2 separate regions of the Homo sapiens genome follow, and region 2 is linked to region 1. The links are contacts of gene promoters, found by promoter capture Hi-C in human tissues and cell types (Jung and others, 2019). All regions are on one chromosome and are shown on one strand. The core of a region is centred on a gene start or on the middle of the fragment in contact, and the rest is flanking DNA. Distances in the headings are between cores, read along the strand shown.

The links. The method cuts DNA at HindIII sites, captures the fragments that hold promoters and counts their contacts. A contact is called where the count stands out against the background at its distance.
Region 2: a fragment that was not itself captured here is called in contact with the fragment with the promoter of GK2 in region 1 in 1 of the 25 tissues and cell types used here (liver).

Annotation. Positions count from the first base shown.
Region 1 is chr4:79,405,253-79,410,733 of GRCh38, forward strand. GK2 (glycerol kinase 2) reads right to left here and starts at 2,976. Exons shown (of 1, transcript NM_033214.3): 1 at 1,109-2,976. The coding sequence starts at 2,948. The coding sequence ends at 1,287. The HindIII fragment of the contact is 12,605 bases long and covers 1-4,403 here.
Region 2 is chr4:79,035,090-79,041,180 of GRCh38, forward strand. The region is part of intron 2 of LINC01088 (long intergenic non-protein coding RNA 1088); the gene reads left to right. Among named protein-coding and RNA genes, the nearest start is that of LINC01088, 66 kb to the left of the region's middle. The HindIII fragment of the contact is 7,883 bases long and covers 1-6,091 here.

The DNA of each region.
Region 1 (5,481 bases), core at 1,726-4,225:
CCTACCTTTTCTTTGTTCCTCATCTGTTTTGTATCTTCTTTAGAATTGAATATTTTAGTAGTTCTAGTGCATATTTTTAATATAACATTTTGTTATTTCAGGATTTATAGTATATATCTTTCATTATCACTATAACTTCAAGTGATACATCATTTTCCACACAGTATATGAGTCTCAAACTACTACACCTTCATTTATCCTCTTCTTTGCTATTGTTTTCTTTTAGACATGCTTGCATTTCATACTATATTATTATTTTTGTTTGAACAGTCATTTGTTTTTTCCTACTTGAAAGCAATATTTTCTGAAATATTCCAGTGTTTTTTCCCAGCATATATCCAGCTAATATATTAAATAAAAGAGTAAGTTATAAGAAATTTGGTGCAATCATAATATACTTTTTGTAGCAGCATAAAACATATTTAACTTTTAAATACTGCCTTTGTAGGTTTCTCCTGATAAATAATATGTATACACATTCCCCAAAATGTATATAGCTGTTTACCTTAAAGTATTTAGGACCATCCATGTTATAATCTACTGACTACAATGTACTTTCAACTTATAAATGAGCTACTCTATATGATATAGACATGATATAAAAAAGGGAAATAGTGTCCCTGTCCCTCTAGGATTCACACAATAATTCAGTAAAATAGTAATTAATGAGACCATGTAAATTGTCTAATAAATTTCAATTTGGCAAATATTTTTCAGGAAAATATCTAAGCTATGAGAATACTAAATTTCTATTGTAAGAATTTAGCAAATATTTCCATTAAACATTCAGTTAAGATGTAGTCTCTCTAATATGTAGAAAGGAGGACTTGTAGCCTATTAAAAACAAGAATAACAATGACAAAAAGTCCCTTAATTTTAGCAGATTAATTACACCTCTTAATCAAGTGTGTGTAACACAAAGAACCAAATCTGGGTCCATAAGTGTTAGAGGATAGTTGATAAAAAGATTCCATGAATAGAATCTGAATAGCCTATGTTTTAGAAAGAATGGGGCAGAATGTTATGGCAATGGAGGGGGCCAGCCTTCAAGATGGCTGGCCCAACCCTGTCGATGTTAAAAAAAACACACCCAATATTTCTACAGTGCTCTTCTAACGTATTTTCTTTATTTCAGGTCACAAGTCTAGGGTTTTCATGGGTCATGTAGCAAGTGGTTTATAAACAAAATCAGAGTCTATAATAGTGTCATTATATTAAGAGGCAGAACTGCTATATGCTTTCATTATGTAAAATGTTTACATCTTGGGACTCCATAGCTGGTATTATTATGGCACACCCGAGATATATCTTGCTCCAATTAGCATTACCATGCTACTCACTATAAAAAATCCCAAAGGCAGACTAGAGAAGATAGAAGGATCACCACCTTCAGGAGACTGACTGGTAACCCAACCCATTGACTTCATTACGGCTTTCTTCCATGTGGCATAACGAATTTCACTTTCTGTGGCCTGGATCTGTGGTTCAAATCGTTCCATCCTGAGAACTGACAAAGCCTGGGGTTCAAGGCTCCAAACGCTTACTCCCTCTGCAGCCCCTGCTGCCATGGCAGCTCCTAGTGCAGTTGTTTCAGGCATAAAGGGTTTTATTACTGGAATATGAAGAATATCTGCTTGTAGCTGCATAAGAACTTTGTTGTTGGTCATTCCTCCATCTACCTGCAAATGACGAAGTGGAATTCCACAGTCACGGTTCATGGCTTCCAAAATCTCTCGGGTTTGGAAACAAACAGCTTCTAATGCAGCAAAAGCAATATGACATTTATTGGTAAACTGAGTGAGGCCACAGAGTATCCCTCTTGCACTGGGCTCCCAATAAGGTGCATATAACCCTGAAAAGGCTGGGACAAAGTAACAGCCATAAGAAGTTCCTACTTCTTTAGCAAGTCTTTCAATGTCTCCTGAGGTCTCTATAATTCCAAGATTGTCTCTTAGCCAACGAATAACAGCACCTGCTATAGCAACAGAACCTTCCAGTGCATAATATGCTGGCTTCTCTCTGCCTAGTTTGTAAGCTACTGTGGTCAAAAGGCCATGTTCAGAAAACACACATTTACGACCCGTATTACACAGTAAGAAGCAACCTGTTCCATAGGTGTTTTTGGCTTGTCCCTCCTGGAAGCACATTTGTCCTACTAATGCAGCACATTGGTCCCCCAAACACCCAGATATTGGCACACCTTCCAGGGCTCCAGTTTTAATTAGGCCATAGATCTCAGAAGAACTGAAGACATTTGGAAGAAGGTCCATTGGAATTTCAAAAAAGTCACAGAGCTCTTTATCCCATTCCAAAGAATGGATATTAAAAAGCATTGTCCTACTTGCATTTGTTACATCTGTACAATGCACGCCTCCATTAACTCCTCCTGTCAAACTCCAGATAAGCCATGAATCAATGGTACCAAAAAGAGCTCTACCTTCTTCAACAGCCTTTTGGACGTTTCTCACATTGTCAAGCATCCAACGAAGTTTTACTGCACTGAAGTAAGTGCTGAGTGGAAGGCCTGTCTTAGACTTGACGAAGTTACTATTTCCTGGAATTTTTTTACTAAGATCCTCAACAGTAGTCTGGGTTCTTAGATCAAGCCACACCACAGCATTGTAGAGAGGCTCTCCTGTTAACTTGTCCCAGATTACAGTGGTTTCCCTCTGATTGCTGACACCAACAGCTTTTATGTTGGATATATCAATATTCAGTTCGTCAAGTTTCTCACACGTTCTCGCTATACACTCGTAGACAGACTGAAGAATTTCTTTAGGGTCTTGTTCCACCCATCCTTCTTTTGGGAACTCTTGTGTTAATTCCACTTTGTGATGACTAAGTAGTTCCGCTGTTTTTGAATTGAAAACCAGAAAGCGAGTGGAGTTGGTGCCCTGGACCACCGCTCCCACCAACGGCCCCACAGCTGCTGTCTTTGGGGCTGCCATGACACCAGTAGGTCGGCTCAGCAGCTCTGGGACCGTTTCCCAGGCCACGGCGGTGTTGGGGGCAGGGAGCGCAGCCAGTCAGGAGCACAAGGCGCAGGCGCAAGGCAACCTTTGCCCTTTAACTGGCGCGGCGCCTTCTCACCCCACCCCTCCAGCCCAGGCTTCACCTCCAGCCACTCAGTTGTCTTCTAAGATTTAATTTTTTTTTTTAAATCATATATTTATCCATGTAATTACAGTTACCGGCGTTCACTCTTTTGTGTGGATCTATATCTCTACGTTATCATTTTCCTTCTTAATAGTGCAGGTCTGCTGGAGATGAATTCTTCCAAATTTGAACATCTGAAATATATTTCATAGTAATATTCAAAGGTATTTTCTCGGGGTATAGAATTCTATTTGACATATTTTTTCTTTTTAAGTTTCAGGACCTTGGAGCTGTTGCTCTACCATCGTCTCTCTTGCTGTTTCAGGTGGAACTTTGCTATTATTTTTAACATGTCTATTTTTCTCTATCTTTAGGGTTTTGCTCTTTATCAGTGGTTTTGCCCAGTTTTATCATGAAGTGTCTTGGAATAGTTTTCTTATTTTCTTTGCTTGGGGTTTACTGAGCTACTTGAATCTGTAGGTTTACAGGTTTCATCGACTTTGAAAAGCTTTGGGCCCATTATTTCTTCAAATGTGTTTTATTCTGTCTCTTCTATCCCTTAGGGACTCCATTGATGCCCTACTCATTATAATTACCTTTTCTCCTTGTCCTTGATTTCAGATAGTTTCTGTTGCTCTCTCTTCAAGTTCACTAATCTTTTCTTCTCCAATGTCTGCTCTGCTATTAATTCATCCAGTACATTTTTCACCTCACATATTGTAGTGTTCATCCCTAGAAGCTCAATTTGGGTTTTTTAATATCTACTTAACTTTCTGAACACATGGAATACAGTTAGAATAACTTTTAATTTCATTTTCTGCAATTCTAACCTCTGTGTCAGTTCTGGTTCGGTTTTGATTGATTGCTTATCTCCTCATTATGGCTTGTATTTCCTGTTTCTTTGCATGCCTGATAAGTTTTAATTAGATGCCAAACATTGTGACTTTTACCTGACTGGGTGCTTGATATTTTTGTATCCCTATAAATGGTCTTGAGTTTTGTTTTGGGATGCAGATAAATTACTTGGAAACAGTTCAATTCTTTTGCGTCTGCTTTTAAGATTTCTTAGATGGCACAAGGATAGTACTCAGTCTGGGGCTAATTCTTCCTCTTTACTGTGAAGAGATCTTTCTATGTACTCTACCCAACACCCCTGACAAATGAGGCTGTTTGGAACAGTAATTCCTCCCAGCCCTGAGTGACCACTGGATACTGTTATCTCTAGTCTTTCCAGGTGCATCTTTCGTTAGCCTCAGTAGTTTTCTCCTATACATGCACTGATCAATACCCAACTGAATACTCACTGGGGGACCCTCTAAAGCTCTCTGGAGTTCTCTCTCTATGCAACTCTTTTTTCTCCAGTGCTATGCCTGGCAGAGTCTAGCTTCTTTGGTTTCTCTAGGCTCTCAGCCTAATCTCCTTGCCATAGGTTTCCACTGAGTTTCAATTGGGTTCCCTGTCTGTGCTGTTGCTTCAAAACTCTCTCAAGAAACTAAGCTGGGGAAATCATAGTAGTCATGTCACTTGTTTTTAATCTCTTAGAAATTACTGCCTTTCATTCCGTGATATCCAGCATTTTGTGAACTGTTGTTTTATATTTTGCACATTATGTGAACTATTTCATCTATTTTTTCCATTTTTGATTGTTTTAGATGAAAAGGTAACTCCAATCCTTTTTACTACATCTTGGCCAGAGTGGAATTCCACTAAATGGAAACTTAAATTTTCAGATTAACTATAGAGTCGGTGAATAAAGACTTATTTAATCATTAATTAAAATATATTGAATATGCAGTCAATGAATGGCAATTTTTTGTATTAGGGCATAGGCTACATTTCTGAATTAGCTCAAGGATAAGGCCCATTTGTGTTTAGTAAAACCAAATAGAACAAGATAGAAAATAACATAAAAATTAACTGTGATATTGTTATTTCACTATTTTATCTGGGTCGTATTTTTTATTTAAGCAAAAACCCTTCAGGAAATACTATGAAGTCTGAGAAAGAAAGAACATTGAGACTTAATTTGCGAAGTAAGGTATAGAAATTATTAAAAACTGGATCAGATTTTCCTGGTTGTGTCTTTGTTTCTAAAATTCTATCAAAGCTTTTCCAAGCAAAATTGTAGAGGCAACATTTACCCGTATTCCAGTTAACCATAACATGTCTGCATTTTCATGGAACAAATTTATATTTACATTGTTTTAACTTTTTTCTCTCCAGGTATTTGGCAAGAGTAAACATTGTGTGTATAGATTAATGTACGCAATAAAAAGATTTGACCCAGAGCTTCTTTTCTACATTCCCTCTCTCCGTTCACACCAATATTTACAAACAAATGTTCCTAATTCCATTAGGTTTTGAGTCTGGGAATACTTTAAGTAT
Region 2 (6,091 bases), core at 2,497-4,996, 370 kb before region 1:
GGCCTTTAATATACTTTAGGTTTCTAAAAATAAAAACAAATGAAAATAATTTTCAAGAGACAAGTCCAAACATAACTGGAGAATTTGATTATGAAAGAATTCATTTTGCCTACATTCTTGTTTGCACGGTGGCTCTCCCTGTATAGCCATTACATAAACTATACAGGACTGTAGATTATAAATTCGACTTATATTTAGAATTCATCTGTGATATGAATATAAAGTTTCAGTCTGTTTTATACTATAGTGTTAGAAAATAAAATCAAGAAGCAGAAAATGGATATGTCCAAAGAATTCTAGGTAATTAAAAGGCAGCTATGTTTTAATCTAATAAGTAGATATCCCTGTCAGTATTTTATGAATTGTGAAGATAGAAACTATATTATTTATCTCAAATTTCTTTAAAAACAATGTTACGATACTGGTCTAGAGACCAGTATCAAACTTGATGTCTTGCAGAGTTATAAAACAACATTGCCAATATATTTTTGGGGGATATTAAAACTGGGTCTAGCATGATAGAAGCATGAATGATCTGATGGTATAATATGTGTTAGAGGCATTCTAGCTTTGGAGAGTCAGGTTTCATTCTTCTTCTGACATGCTCCAGTTATATAACTACGACAGTCAACACAGTGTTCTTAGTTTTTTCTTAACCAGTTTCAGGTAAAACCATAGGCATTTAGATACCTACAGGAGGCATTCTCTTCTTCAGTGGTGACGTACTGCAATAAGGTTCTGAGACTAACCACCCAAGGTGAGTACCAGACTCCACAGTTTTAAGGACATGGTCCCTGACATGATTGCCCTCACTTCAGATACCAGATGAAAAATTGGAGCCCCAAGCTACCTGCATTGCTAACCAACTGGCTACAAATCCAGAGGATTCCCATGACTACAACTCAGGTTTGACAATTCCCTAGAATAAATCATAGAACTCAGGAAAGTGCTATACTTACAGTTTTATTGTCAAGGATGCAAGTCAGGACCAGACAAATGAGGAGACACAGAGGGCAAGGGCTGGGAGGATCCTGATTGCAAAGCTTCCATGCTGCCTCTCAGTGGGTTCAGAGTGTATCAAACTCTTGGCCCATCAATGTGTTCATCAACCAAAAAGCTCCCTCAAGCTTCAGTGTTGGGAATTTTTACTGGGGTTTCATAATGTAGGCATAATTGATAAAATCATTGTCCATGTAATTGAGCTCAATCTTCATTCAGTCTTCCTACCCTCGCTGAATGTCCAGAAGTTGGGCTGATATCACATGGTTTAAAGCCCCAATCTTCTAATAACATGATCAGCCCCCATTCTGAAGCTATCTGGGGTCCCACCATGAGTTACCTCAACACAAATTCAGGTGTGATCCAAGGAACTTAGGAATAACAAAGACACTTCTTTTACTGGGGAAGTTCCAAGGATTTAGAGTCTTAATCCCAGGAACAAGGAACAAAGACCAGTCAAATTCCTTATTATACAACAAGTGGTGTGGTCCAAAGCTCTTTCTTAAAAAAGTTAGTAGTTATTTCAAATATGTATGCACCATAAATTAGTCATAAAGTCTGACATTGTAACTGTTTTCTTATAGGATATCTGGAAGTATGTAATTCCCCTCTTTTCCAATCCACTCTTTGCCTCTCATAGTGGTTGGATTATATAATAATTTTATGTTCCAATGCTGATAATTTTCTTTTTCTGAGAAAACTGTGGAGTCAATATGAATTCTTATTTCTAGGCCAAACCTAAAGGATTAAGGCTGAGAACATCTTCTGTTTTTGATAAAGATTAAAAATACATTTCCTTTTGCTGGCCTATGCTTCTCTTAATATTCAATGACTTCAAATACATAATTGTGATTGTTACTGTAAATCATAGCAAAATGGTTTATGGTCAGAGTTTATTTGATTTGGCTTTACCTATCCATGTGCTCTTAGAATAGGAGAGGTATGGAAATACTGGAGTAGGCCTAACACTTTGATTTAAAACTTTTTCAGAGAAACGGACTGATAAAATCAAAGGGTTACTTGTGGTTTGCTTCCAGCTCCATCAATATAGCGTATGGTATAAAGTTAAGAAAATTACTGACAGATTTGATTGTTGAACTAGGTCTGATTGGCTCCCAGACCTGATGTATTTCAGTAACTTGTGCTGCTTCCGGATGAGAGTTGCTTTTCCTTTTTAAGGGAAACATAAAAGCAGGGTACACTATAAGAATACCTAAAAGTCTGAATTTCTCATGGAGTTTTTTTTTAACTTTAAAGGAACCAAATTAAGATTTTAAAATATGCAAATTTCATTTTCTATTTTTGAAAGCCATTTTCTGATTCGTACCACCAGGTGTTTTCTCTTGGTTGTAGTTGGATGGTAATAATCTATGCCTTTATGGTGTGTGGCATTCTTAGAAGTCTGAAATATGCCACGTGCTGAGTGTTATACTAGATAAAAACACAACAACCTTAATGTTGGCCACAGAATATGTTAAATGCAGTGATCATGAAAACGCCTTTTTAGATAAGACAACAGATAGTAGATACCCGTTATCAATGCAAGACTTGTGAGATAAGGTGAGTGGGGGAGAGGTATGTGCTATATACTGAAATAGTTTTTCTGTTGTTAACAAGTAGCATCACATGTATTGTTTAGAATGATGTTTTACTTTGCTGAAGAAATTCTCCTGAATCCCAAAATAAAAAAGAGCATAGAGGAAATATTTAGTTATCTAAATATTTGATAAGGACTGAATCTCAACAATCACTTTCTGTTGTGGGTAAGAAATTATTATTTAGGTTGGAAAAATGAGACAAAATATAGCAATTTGGGGAGAAGTAAAGAACTGCATTTATTTTGTGTTTGGTGACTGTATTACTCAACACTGTAAACATATATTTTTTGTATGAAAATAAATGTTTCTTTTGTGGGACAGTGCCATTTTATGTACTGCTGAAATTATTCCCCTACAAACTGTATTTTATCTGGAGAAGTGATTGGTGTCAAAAGTATTGCTTGTATCAAGATATATGTACAGAGTGGAGGTTGCTCAGTAATATATAGTGTCCTGATGGTTTATGTTGACGGTGCACTGACATAATTTACATCAGCCATTCCTTTTTACCTTGAACTATAAGGTGTGATAGCTTCCGGATTTATATTTGTAAGACTTTTAACCATTTAAGGAGTTACTGTTAACAAATGCACACATATTTATGATATTCTGGTTCTGAGATGAAAACAAATATAAAACAATGTTGCTTGTGAGAACAGGAACTGGTAAGGAGCTCTTTGACAAGCAGCACTGTCGATGCAAGTCATAACAACTACAATAACAGCAACAATAGTTATTATTTCTAACAACTTCCATTTGAAGGATGCTCTTATGAAGTAGGCTGGTGTAGTGATGGAGCACCAAGTCTCTGGAGTCAGACTATGCAGGTTTGAATCTCAGCTCTGCTGCTAGGTGTATGACCTTGGCCAACTTGTTTGACCTTTCTGTGCCTTGATTTCCTAATTTTTAAAATGGGGAAAAGAATAGGATTGTTCTGGGAATTAAATGACATGATAGAGAGAAAATACATAGAATAGTAAATTATTTTAATGGTGATGATTTACAATATCTTTAGTCCTTACAGCAACTCTGGCAAGTTATTTTTTTCCCTCAAATTAGGGAAAGGTACAATTTTGCACTATTAATAGATATGAGACTGAGCATCAGAGAAGTTAAAGTCTTGCCCATGAACGCAGATTTGAGATTGAAATGTAGGTATGGTTAGCTTTCATGCTGTAATTCATTTCACTAAGTTTTGCTGCCTCAATATTAGAACTATTATTATTCCTGTGAAAGGGAAACTTTAAAAAGGGAACAGTTATAGGAATACTTGAGTCCAAAATTTTCATGGAAAAATTTTTAACCTTAGTGGAACCAAATATCTTAATAGTATGCAGAAAGGAACCATTCTCTAGCCTACAAATATGTTCTTTGGGGGAAGAAGGATTAATATTATCACTGAGTCATAAGTGTAAAATTTATGCAATATGGTTAAATTGAAATTAGTTATAATTTGGAGAAATTTGGAGGAGGTTATGATCATGGATACTGCACACAAGCTGTCACACACTTTCTAGATCTAGTTTTAATTACATGCACATGGATTATCCAATCTGACTATTAAACCTGGTAAATACTACACTAAGTTCTTATTAATATACTTATTTTGCTTAATTAAAGAAGTTATGTAGATTATAAAAATATATCTCTCTTTCAAGCTATTCCTCATATTCTCAAGACTTTTATTGGCAAAATCTATTGAAGCATAAACACAGTTTCTCACATAGTTATACTCCTCTCGCTATCCAGTTGAGTGCTATGTGCGCTGTAGAGGTTTAGTAATTATTTGGTGTTTTTGGCAAGCTTATCTTTTGTACATTCTTCTTGATTCCTAAACCTTTTAGAACACCCCCAACTTGAGCTTTCAGTGCAGCAATAACGTGGATATCTCTCTGCATCTCCATGTAGCTGCAGTTTTACATTGAACATAATTTCAATGTCAGTAGACTGCATGGTCTGCTATGTCAGAAAGAGGCAAGACATAGTGAGCTTTCCTAATACCTAAAATGCTCCTGTGGTGGTAGTGGGGACCAAAATCCAATGGGATTAAGAAAGATGGGTATTAAGCAGACTGCTTATATTGATATTGGAGAGAGTCAGGTCAAGTTTCGACCTTTTCATGTGTATTACCTAGTTTGGCAATGGCCTCCCCTACTCACCCAAAACCTGAGCAGATATCCTGGGCATAATCCAGTGCTCACCCCTATTTCCACACATGCTTTTAGTAACAGGATCCTATCCCATTCCTCTAAATCTTAAATTGTTCTCCCATTCATCCCTGTCTCGTCATTCCCATTGCTATTTCAGTCTTTATAACTTTGGTCCCACAATGTTTCTCTCTCTCTCTCTCTCTTTTTATGAATGAGCATTTCCCCACATTATTAAATTTCCTTCAAAATATGATTTTTATGCTCAACATCACTAATCATTAGAGAAATGCAAATCAAAACCACAATGAGATGCCATCTCACACCAGTCAGAGTGGCTATTATTAAAAGTCAAAAAACAACAGATTCTGGCAAGGTTGCTGAGAACAATGTATGCTTATATACTGTTGGTAGGAATGTAAATTAGCTCAGCCATTGTGGAAAGCAGTTTAGTGATTTCTCAAAGAACTCAAAACAGAATTACCATTTGACACAGTAATCCCATTGCTGAATATATACCCAAAGGAATATAAATTGTTCTGCCATGGAAACACATGCATGCATATGTTCATTACAGCATTATTCACAATAGTAAAAACATAGAATTAACCTAAATGCCCATCAATGGTAGACTGGATAAAGAAAATGTGTTATATACACACCATGGAATACTGTGCAGCCATAAAAAAGAATGAGAACATGTCTTTTGCAGCAACATGGATGGAGCTGGGGGCCATTATCCTAAGCAAACTAACACAAGAACAGAAAACAAAATACTGCATGTTCCCACTTATAAGTGGGAGCTAAACATTGAGTACATATGGACACAAAGAACAGACACCGGGGCCTGCTTAAGGTTGGAGAGAGTGAGGAGTGTGAGGATTGAAAAACTACCTATTTGGTACTATGCTTATTACCTGGGTGCCAAAATAATCTGTACACCCAGCTCCCATGACACACAATTTACCTATATAATATACCTGCATGTGCATCCCCAAACCTAAATAAAAGTTCAGACAAACATGATTTTTATGTTTTTGTGTTACTTTATCATATGGTTGTGTCCGATTTAAAAATCCCTCTATTTTGGCCAGGCGCAGTGGCTCACGCCTGTAATCCCAGCATTTTGGGAGGCCGAGGTGGGTGGATCACCTGAGGTTAGGAGTTCGAGACCAGCTTGGCCAAATGGCAAAACCCTGTCTCTACTAAAAATACAAAAATTAGCTGGGTGTGGTAGGGGGCGCCTGTAATCCCAGCTACTCACGAGGCTGAGGTAGGAGAATCGCTTGAACCCGGGAGGCAGAGGTTGCAGTGAGCTGAGATCTCACCACTGCACTCCAGCCTGGG